3 separate regions of the Homo sapiens genome follow, and all the other regions are linked to region 3. Evidence: promoter capture Hi-C in 16 types of primary human blood cells and fetal thymus (Javierre and others, 2016). All regions are on one chromosome and are shown on one strand. The core of a region is centred on a gene start or on the middle of the fragment in contact, and the rest is flanking DNA. Distances in the headings are between cores, read along the strand shown.

Region 1 (2,700 bases), core at 19-2,518, 1.3 Mb before region 3:
CACGCGGCTCATGTGGGAGAAGTCAGCACAGAGCTCACCATGGACAGCACTTGGGCAGGCAGCACAGGAAGCTCCCGGAGCTAGGCGGCCACCGGAACTTCCACTAACCAAGGGCATGAGAGTGGGCGGACGGTCCACGCCATCAGGGTTAGGGTTAGGGCCCTACCTTGGGCAGGTGCTTCATGACGCACATCACCACGGGCTGCAGGGACGGCATCTTCACCAGAGAAAAGCTCTTCTCCAGAAGGTCTTCCAGCTTCTTGTACCTGGAACAACTCACAGGATTGATGGTGCAGCGATGCGCCAAATCGCAGCAGCTACCTGCCTGTCCCTACACAGATAACAGCTACCAGGACAAGCCTCCACGCCCAGGACACATGGGTCAAGGGGTCACTCAGACACAGGCCCAGGCCACCTCTGGGAGCAAGGATGTGGAGCCAAAAGGACAATAAATGCCCCTGAGTCGATCCAAGGCTGAGAGGCCGGCTGCACATCTCACCTGCCCACCCCTCCCGCTGACCCACCTTTCCTCAGCCTTCCCCTCCGAAGCGATGGCTGACACTCGCTCCAGCAGCTTGTCCCGCAGCTCATCGAATACCGACTGGTGGAACTCCAGCCGCGGCGTCCCGTGCAGGTCCAAGAAGGGGAGGGCTGACTGAAGAGATGGCAGCAGCACACCATTCTCTGTCTGAGGAAGCCAAGAGAAACCTCAAACGCAGCCCAGTGCGCCCGGGCACCCCGAGGTCCTGAGAGCACAGGGAGGCACGCACCCAGGTGTTCCCAGCCGTGCTGGCGGTAACCGCAGCCACCGAAAGCCACCCAGCCGTCCAGCAAAGGGGTGCTGGCTCCGGACTCCACCCCCAGAACAGGACTCAGCCACCAGCAGAAAGCCGGAAAACTTCCGGCGCCTCCGCCAGGCCCGACTCCCGAGCAGGCGGCCCGGCCCTCCAACTGGGCTCCCCCCGCCCCGGGGGCCGCCCCACCTGGAACTGCTCGATGGCCTTGAGCGGCTCCGTGCAGTTGGTCAGGGTCTCCTTCAGGTCCTCGCCGTTGGCCACGCCCAGGTCCTGCAGCCCCGCGAACATGGCCGAGGCCCCGGCCACCGCCCGGCTAGGCGCCCCATCCCCAGCCCGTTCCCCCGGCGCCGCCGCAGACACCCCAGAAGCCCGCTCCGCCGGGCCTCGGGGACCGCCCGAGCCCCGCTCCCCGGCGCCCTCCAGCTCGGCCAGGTCCCGCCCGCCGCGCGACTCCGCGCGCGTCCCGCAGCCGCCCACTTCCGCCCCGCACCGCCCAGGTCCGCCCGCCAACCGGCCCCCGGGAAACGCCGCCGGGGCCGCGCGCAGGTTCCTGGGAGCAGCGCCCTCACCCGGCGCGAGAGACCCCGCCCAGCCAGCCCAGCGCGCATGCGCCCACCCGGTCCCGCCCGCGCCCGGGCTTTCTGGCAGAAGAGGGCGGGTGAGGGCGTGGGGGGCGGACTCAGGGTCCGTCTGCTCCGGGAACGGACGTCGTCGCAGCCGAGTGAATTTCGTGTACATAAGCGTGGAAAACGCTCTTGCAGATCTCGCGGCAGCCACGCGCAGCGGGGACGTTTTGCCGGGGGTTGAGCTCCCCGCCCCTCTGCCCCGCAGGGGCCGGACACAGGCGCAGACTCCCTCCTGAGCGTGGGTTCCTCCGCGTGAAACGGGCACGAAGCCCACCCCGGCGCTGTCGCCAAAACTGAGATCTGAGCGCCTTCAGGGGGCCGGGGCCTGGCGGAGACCGGGCCCGCAGCGGGAGCGCGAGCGACGGCCGCCCTCCCAGGCACCGGGAGGCTGTGGCGCCCACCGAGCTCCGCGGAGCCGTGAAGGAGAGTCCAGGTTCCACAGTGTCCCTTCTTATCCCAGGCGGGTGGGCTCCCCGGGCCTCCCCGCCTCTCCAGCCCGCCGCCCTCCCGCAGGCTGTGCCGCGCCAAGCCCCCTACACACACCCTCTCTCTTTTCGGTCTCCGCTGCTGAAATTTTCTCTAGAAATTTCTTTCCCGCTGCCCAGCAAACTCTTGCTCTTCCTTGAAGGCTTCTTCCTCCACCACCTCCTCCAGGAAGCCCTCCCTCCTCAGCCCAGCTGGAGGAGATCGCTCCATCTTTCCTGCCGCTCCCACTCCTAGCTTTGGGTCTCACCAGGGGTGCCTGGTGGTGCAGCCGTGAGCAGAGCTCCTGTTCCCACAAGCCGGGCCGAGCTCCCAAGGCCATGGCTACCACAGCTCTCTTGCCGCTGGCCAAGTTGGTCAGCCCTAGGGCGAGGGTTCCAGTGCCTTGATCCAACCCCCAGCTGGTTCGGTGGCAGAGGAGGACAAGGGTCACAGCACACACACAATCCTGAGCCTGGGATTCCTCTCTGAGAAAGGGGGTGGTGCTGAGGCCACAGAAGCAGCTGCCCAGAGCCTTTTTGAAGGGGTTGAGCTCTGGGCCTGGTCTGGGTCCTGGGTCTGGGGAGGACCTGGGGAGGTGCGGGTGACGGCACCGCAGGTAAGGCTCCTGCAAGGTGGCAGCCTTGGGGCCCGACCCTGGGTAGGAGGGCAGGCCAGTGATGACAAGGGAGGCCCCAGCCAGGCGAAGTTGCAGGCAGGGGCAGTGCAGGGTCCCAGCAGGTGAAGGCCCCGGGAGTGGAGTCTGCAGGGCCCTGGGCCAGAGTGTTCAGGGCACAGGTGACTAAGCCCAGCCA
Region 2 (2,700 bases), core at 27-2,526, 1.9 Mb after region 3:
CAGGTTCAAGTGATTCTCCTGCCTCAGCCTCCCGAGTAGCTAGGGTTACAGGCATGTGCCACCATGCCTGGCTCATTTTGTATTTTTAGTGGAGACAGGGTTTCACTATGTTGATCAGGCTGGTCTCAAACTCCTGACCTCGTGATCCACCCGCCTCAGACTCCCAAAGTGCTAGGATTACAGGCATAAGCCACCGCACCTGGCTGCACAAAAGGTTTTTAAGGGTGAATGAGTGCCTGCCCATCTCCTTTCCTATCTGTCCTAAAACATTTAATTAGCTGTCTTTCAGTCTTTTGGCTCTAAGTCTCTTGGCCATAGGGATCCCACCAAGGGACAAGATGGACCCAGTGCAGGTAGCACACAGCCCCAGCAACGATATAGGACAAAATAAAAGTTTGGTCATCAATGCCATCTCTGGCAAATCTTGGCCAAAAGAAGGGAATATAAACTAAAAATAAAATCCTAAACTCCTCACTGACTGAACGGATCCCCTCTTGGCCAAGGGGACCTCAGAAAAAACTTAAAACTGAGTTCCCAGCCACGATGGGATAGGAGAGCCCACTCATGTCGTTATAACTCCTCCCTTTGGTGACTTAGAGACAAGGCACTAGCATTTGCGTTAAAATATGTAAGACTGAAAACATAGAAGACTGAAAAACAGACTCTTTATGGCGATAACATACCAAATTATAAATAAGACCTGTGGCTGGGCATGGTGACTCACATCTGTAATCCCAGCACTTTGAGAGTCCAAGGCGGGCAGATCACTTGAGGCTGAGAGTTCGAGACCAGCCTGGCCAACATGGTGAACCCCCATCTCTACAAAAAATACAAAAATTAGCTGGACATAGTGGCGCATGCCTGTAATCCCAGCTACTTGGGAGGCTGAGGCAGGAAAACCACTTGAACCCAGGAGGTGGAGGTTGCAGTGAGCCAAGATGGCACAACTGCACTCCAGTCTGGGTGACAAAGTGAGACTCTGATTCCAAAAATAAATAAATTAATTAATTAATAAGATTTAGGGCCATGCCAGGCACAAGTTAAGTCCTACACCTCTACAATTAAAGAATAAACTCTATTCTCACTGCCACGAGGTTGTTCCTTTTCTCTAGCAGCTAAGTAAGTACTGACCTCAAGATAAACAATGTTAAAACGATTTGCAGCTCATCCAGCTCCAGATGCTAACTGACCCCATTCACCCACCATAACTAGCTTTCTCTTCTTTTGAAACAGCGTCTCACTCTGTCCTCCAGGCTAGAGTGCAGTGGTGCAATCCTGGCTGAGTGCAGCTTCAACCTCCCAGCCTCAAGCAATCCTCCCACCTCAGCCTCCCAAGTAGCTGGGCCTACAGGTGTGCACCACTAGGTGTACCAGTAGGTCCACCCGGGAGGTGGAGTTTGCACCCAGCTACTTTTTGTATTTTTGGTAGAGATGGGGTTTTGCCATGTTGCCTAGGCTGATCTCAAATTCCTGGGCTTAAACAATCCTCCCATCGTGGCCTCCCAAAGTGCTGGGACTACAGGTGTGAGCCACTATGCCCAGCCAACTACAGCTTTCATTGAACAAGAGACTGATTTCAGCAACTTTCTCCAGGTAAGACCACTGACTATGGATTGGTTCCGGCTGGTTCAGAGAGGCTGCATACTTGTGTGCTTTTGTGTCCTGGAAAGACCTTTTTACTATAAGGCCTAATTTTATTTTATGTATGTATATATTTTTATTTATTTGAGACGGAGTCTCCCACTATTGCCCAGGCTGGAGTGCTGTGGTGCCATCTCGGCTCACTGCAACCTCCGCCTCCTGGGTTCAAGTGATTCTCCTGCCTCAGCCTCCCAAGTAGCTAAGACTACAGGTGTGCACCACGGTGCCCAGCTAGTTTTTTTTTTATTTTTAGTAGAGACTGGGTTTCACCGTATTGGCCAGACCTCAGCCTCCCAAAGTGCTGGGATTACAGGCGCGAGCCACTGCACCCAGCCTATAAGGCCTAATTTTAGTACATTTTGATGCTAAGTCTCCACCCCAAGGTGAACATGAGTTGTATGTTACATGCATGTTTGTTCAGTATGCATGTTGTCAGGACCTTCATGAATATTCATAGCTCCTCCTATAACCTGTTGAATGTGTATGTTTAGCCAACCTGTTCAGCATGGAGCTCCTGCCCCAACCCCTCCTCCTTCAGAGGCACATTTTCCAGCCTGTGGGATGGCCACCTTGCTGGCTGTAACCCTTTATGAGAAAGAAAGTCACCCAGGCGCAGTGGCTCACACCTGTAGTCCCAGCAATTTGGGAGGCCAAGGCGGGCAGATCACTTAAACTCAGGAGTTCAAGACCAGCCTGGCCAACATGGCAAAACCCCATTTCTACAAAAAGTACCTGGGCATGGTGAAAGGCACCTATAGTCCCAGCTACCTGGGAGGCTGAGGCAGGAGGGTTGCTTGAGCCCAGGAGGCAGCGGTCGCAGCGAGTCATGATTGCATCACTGTACTCCAGCCTGGGCAACAGAGTATTTATGGATATTGTGGGGTTCTTTTTTCAATTAACAGTACAAATTCAGGAGAATCTCAGACAAATTATTAAAATTAATAAGACAGGGCTGGGCGAGGTGGCTCACACCTGTAATCCTAGCACTTTGGGAGGCTGAGGCGGGTGGATCACGAGGTCAGGAGTTGGAGACCAGCCTGGCCAACATAGTGAAACCCT
Region 3 (2,700 bases), core at 104-2,603:
GTAGCAGAGGCTCCCACCTGTGAGAGGCAATTAGTAAGTGCTGAACTGGACACATGGAATCTGGACGAGGTTGGAATTATCACAGGAGAAAAATGAGGATGTGTGTGCAAAATGGTGTGGACAGAATAAAAGCCTGCAGGCAGGAGGCAGAGACAGCCTCCCCGGTTAGATTGCTAACCTCTGAGAACGGGAACTGTGCCTTATTCATCTCTGCGCAGTAAAGTTTTTTTAAATGAATGGGATGAATGAGTACAGATCAGTCAATGTGTCAGGTCTAACCTGAACTACAAAATTCATATTTAGGAGCATGGTAAGTAAGACGTTATCCAGGACTGTTGAGCTAGGTACAGAGACCACTGCCAAGGGGGCTTGCAGTGGGGAGAGAGGTCAGGCTCAACTCCCAATACAGCAAGGGCAAGTGGGTGGGGTCAGTGAATGGAAAATTAATAGGAGAAAACATCAGGGATGTGGGCGGTTCTGGCTAAACCGACCTGACAGGGTTCTTGCTGAAGAGAGGCTGGAGATATCAGACAGCACCTGGGGGACGAGGAACCTGACCAGACGTCCAGGGTGATCTGATATTGAGGCTGGGAGTTCTTGCTAAACTCACTTATCAAGGCTCTTCGCTAAAACTGGATTTTACAAGGAAGTGTACAGATGATGTAGAAGGTTCAGGAGCCTGCTTAAGTTTGGCCAAGCAAAGACTCTTTGTCACACCCCACAGAAAATGAGTCTGCCTGGCATCACCTGCACCAAGGGCGGCTTCCCTCCCCTCTGGGTGCCCCGCAAACCTAGGCTTCGCAGGAACAGTGACTCTCTGATCTGCGTGTGAATTAGAAAGACCTAGGCTTGTTAAAGCCAAGTTCTTTGGAGAGCCTCCGTTCTACAGCAGTGCAGTGCAAAAGAAATATCACAGCAGCCATGTAGGCAATTTAAAATTCTATCTTAAAAAGGTTAAAAGAAACAGGTGAAATTAATTTTAATGACATATTTTTCTTAACTCAATAGATACAAAATATTATTTCAACATGTAATCAATATGAAAACATTATCGAGATGCCTTACATTCCTTTTTCCCGTTACTTCTTTGGGATCCAGCGTGTATTTTACCTTTAGAACCCATGAGGTCCCACGTGGTGAGTGCCCCGGGTGGGAACCGCCTGCAGCTCGGGGAGGAACGAAGCTACCAGAGAACTACAGCTCCCGGCATGCTCCGGGCGCGCCCCGTGACGCACTTCCTTTGCGGTGGCCACAGCGCGCCCCCGGCGGCGGGAGCGAGGCGCCTGTCCGAGAACCACATCTCCCGGCATGCGCCAGACGCGCCCGTGACGCACTTCCGGTGCGGCCGCGACGGCGCGCCCCCGGCGGCTGCTGCGGCGGCGGGAGCGAGGCGACCGCTGAGGCCGCGGAGAGTGACGGCGGCCCGGCCGACGGGAGCCGGGGCGGGGCGGCGGCCCAGCGAAGGAGCGCGCGGGCGGTCTGGCCCCGCCCCCTCCCCGCCCGCCTTCCCGGTGACCTTCAGGGGCCCGGGTGGCGGGCGCAGGCCCCTGCGGCGGCGGCGGGATGTTCGTGCAGGAGGAGAAGATCTTCGCGGGCAAGGTGCTGCGGCTGCACATCTGCGCGTCCGACGGCGCCGAGTGGCTGGAGGAGGCCACCGAGGACACCTCGGTGGAGAAGCTCAAGGAGCGCTGCCTCAAGCACGTAAGGCCGGGCCCCCTCCCCTGCCCCCAACACCCGCTCCGGACCCCTCCGACTGCGGACCCCGCCTCAGTCCCCGAACCGCCCCGACCTGGGGTCCGCCGCCCAGTCCGCAGCTCCCAGGCCCTCTCCTCCGGGGGTGGAGGCAGCGCCTCCTGCCCGTTTGCCCGACTCTCCCCCTTTCGGATCCCACACCTCTGGACGCTCGTCCCGGGCCTGGCCTTTCGGCCGGCGGACTCCGGTCACTAAGCGCTCGCCCCGTGCCAGCCGCCCGGCCGAGCCCTGTACACGCCAGCCTCTCAGTTAACTCTGCAGCCACGCAGGGAGGTAGGGGCAGATCGGGAAACTGAGGCCTGGAGAGTGAAGTCGCCGACGGAGCAGGGCCTCGGGACTTTCCGGCAGTTGTACCTTTTTGCTGTTGGGGTGAGGTTTTTTTTCAGCAGCATCTTTGAGAGCTGAGAATTAACGTAGGCTCCTTCATGAAGAGGCCCCTTCTCCTTCCTCTTCCCCTTTCCCGCAGAGCCGGCTGCTTGGAGCTCTTTTCCTGGCTGGCCCCAGGCCACTGTGCCTTTTAGCTGGAGTCCCTGAAATAGTGCCGCTGCGGGACAAGGCCCTGCGCCCCTGCTTTTCTGCAGAGGTAAAATTGGTCAAGAGAGAAGTCCCAGGAGTAGGGTCTCCTCGCGGAGACACTTTTTAAAGTTTATTCACCTGAAATACTCCTGTGTATTTAGTTCCTTAGGTTGCTGATTTTTGGAACTAGTTCTCGAGTCTCTAAAGGACTCAGTAAGGTCAGCTAAGAAGCCTGTCTGTGTGTCAGACTGACCTCCTGTCTATACCTGACATGATCTGAGGGCTTGGCAGAATTTAGGTTGAAGGAGGCTGCAATTTTCTAGTGGCGACTCCATGTGATAAGTTACGACGTATCTGTGTTGACAGGTTGAGTGCGTTACACTTGAGCTGAGTGTGGTCTCTAAGGATAAACTTCAGTTCTTACCATAGTAG

Evidence for each region. Contacts are between HindIII fragments. The CHiCAGO score rates a contact against its expected background, and 5 or more counts as called.
Region 1: a contact is called between the fragment with the promoter of NELFB here and the fragment with the promoter of UBAC1 in region 3, in 2 of 17 cell types (neutrophils and naive CD8 T cells). The highest score is 10.5, in neutrophils.
Region 2: a contact is called between a fragment that was not itself captured here and the fragment with the promoter of UBAC1 in region 3, in 2 of 17 cell types (neutrophils and fetal thymus). The highest score is 8.8, in neutrophils.

The regions. Positions count from the first base shown.
Region 1 is chr9:137,253,895-137,256,594 of GRCh38, reverse strand. NELFB (negative elongation factor complex member B) reads right to left here and starts at 1,268. Exons shown (of 13, transcript NM_015456.5): 1 at 984-1,268; 2 at 525-688; 3 at 167-266. The coding sequence starts at 1,229. It also overlaps a transcript of CIMIP2A not described here. RefSeq lists enhancers at 1-912, 913-1,860 and silencers at 871-930, 971-1,150, 1,161-1,530, 1,721-1,900. The HindIII fragment of the contact is 15,726 bases long and covers 1-2,700 here.
Region 2 is chr9:134,020,178-134,022,877 of GRCh38, reverse strand. No RefSeq gene overlaps it. Among named protein-coding and RNA genes, the nearest start is that of BRD3OS, 4.0 kb to the left of the region's middle. The HindIII fragment of the contact is 3,675 bases long and covers 1-2,700 here.
Region 3 is chr9:135,960,026-135,962,725 of GRCh38, reverse strand. UBAC1 (UBA domain containing 1) reads left to right here and starts at 1,353. Exons shown (of 10, transcript NM_016172.3): 1 at 1,353-1,701. The coding sequence starts at 1,564. RefSeq lists silencers at 1,204-1,613, 1,624-1,743 and an enhancer at 1,233-1,733. The HindIII fragment of the contact is 10,703 bases long and covers 1-2,700 here.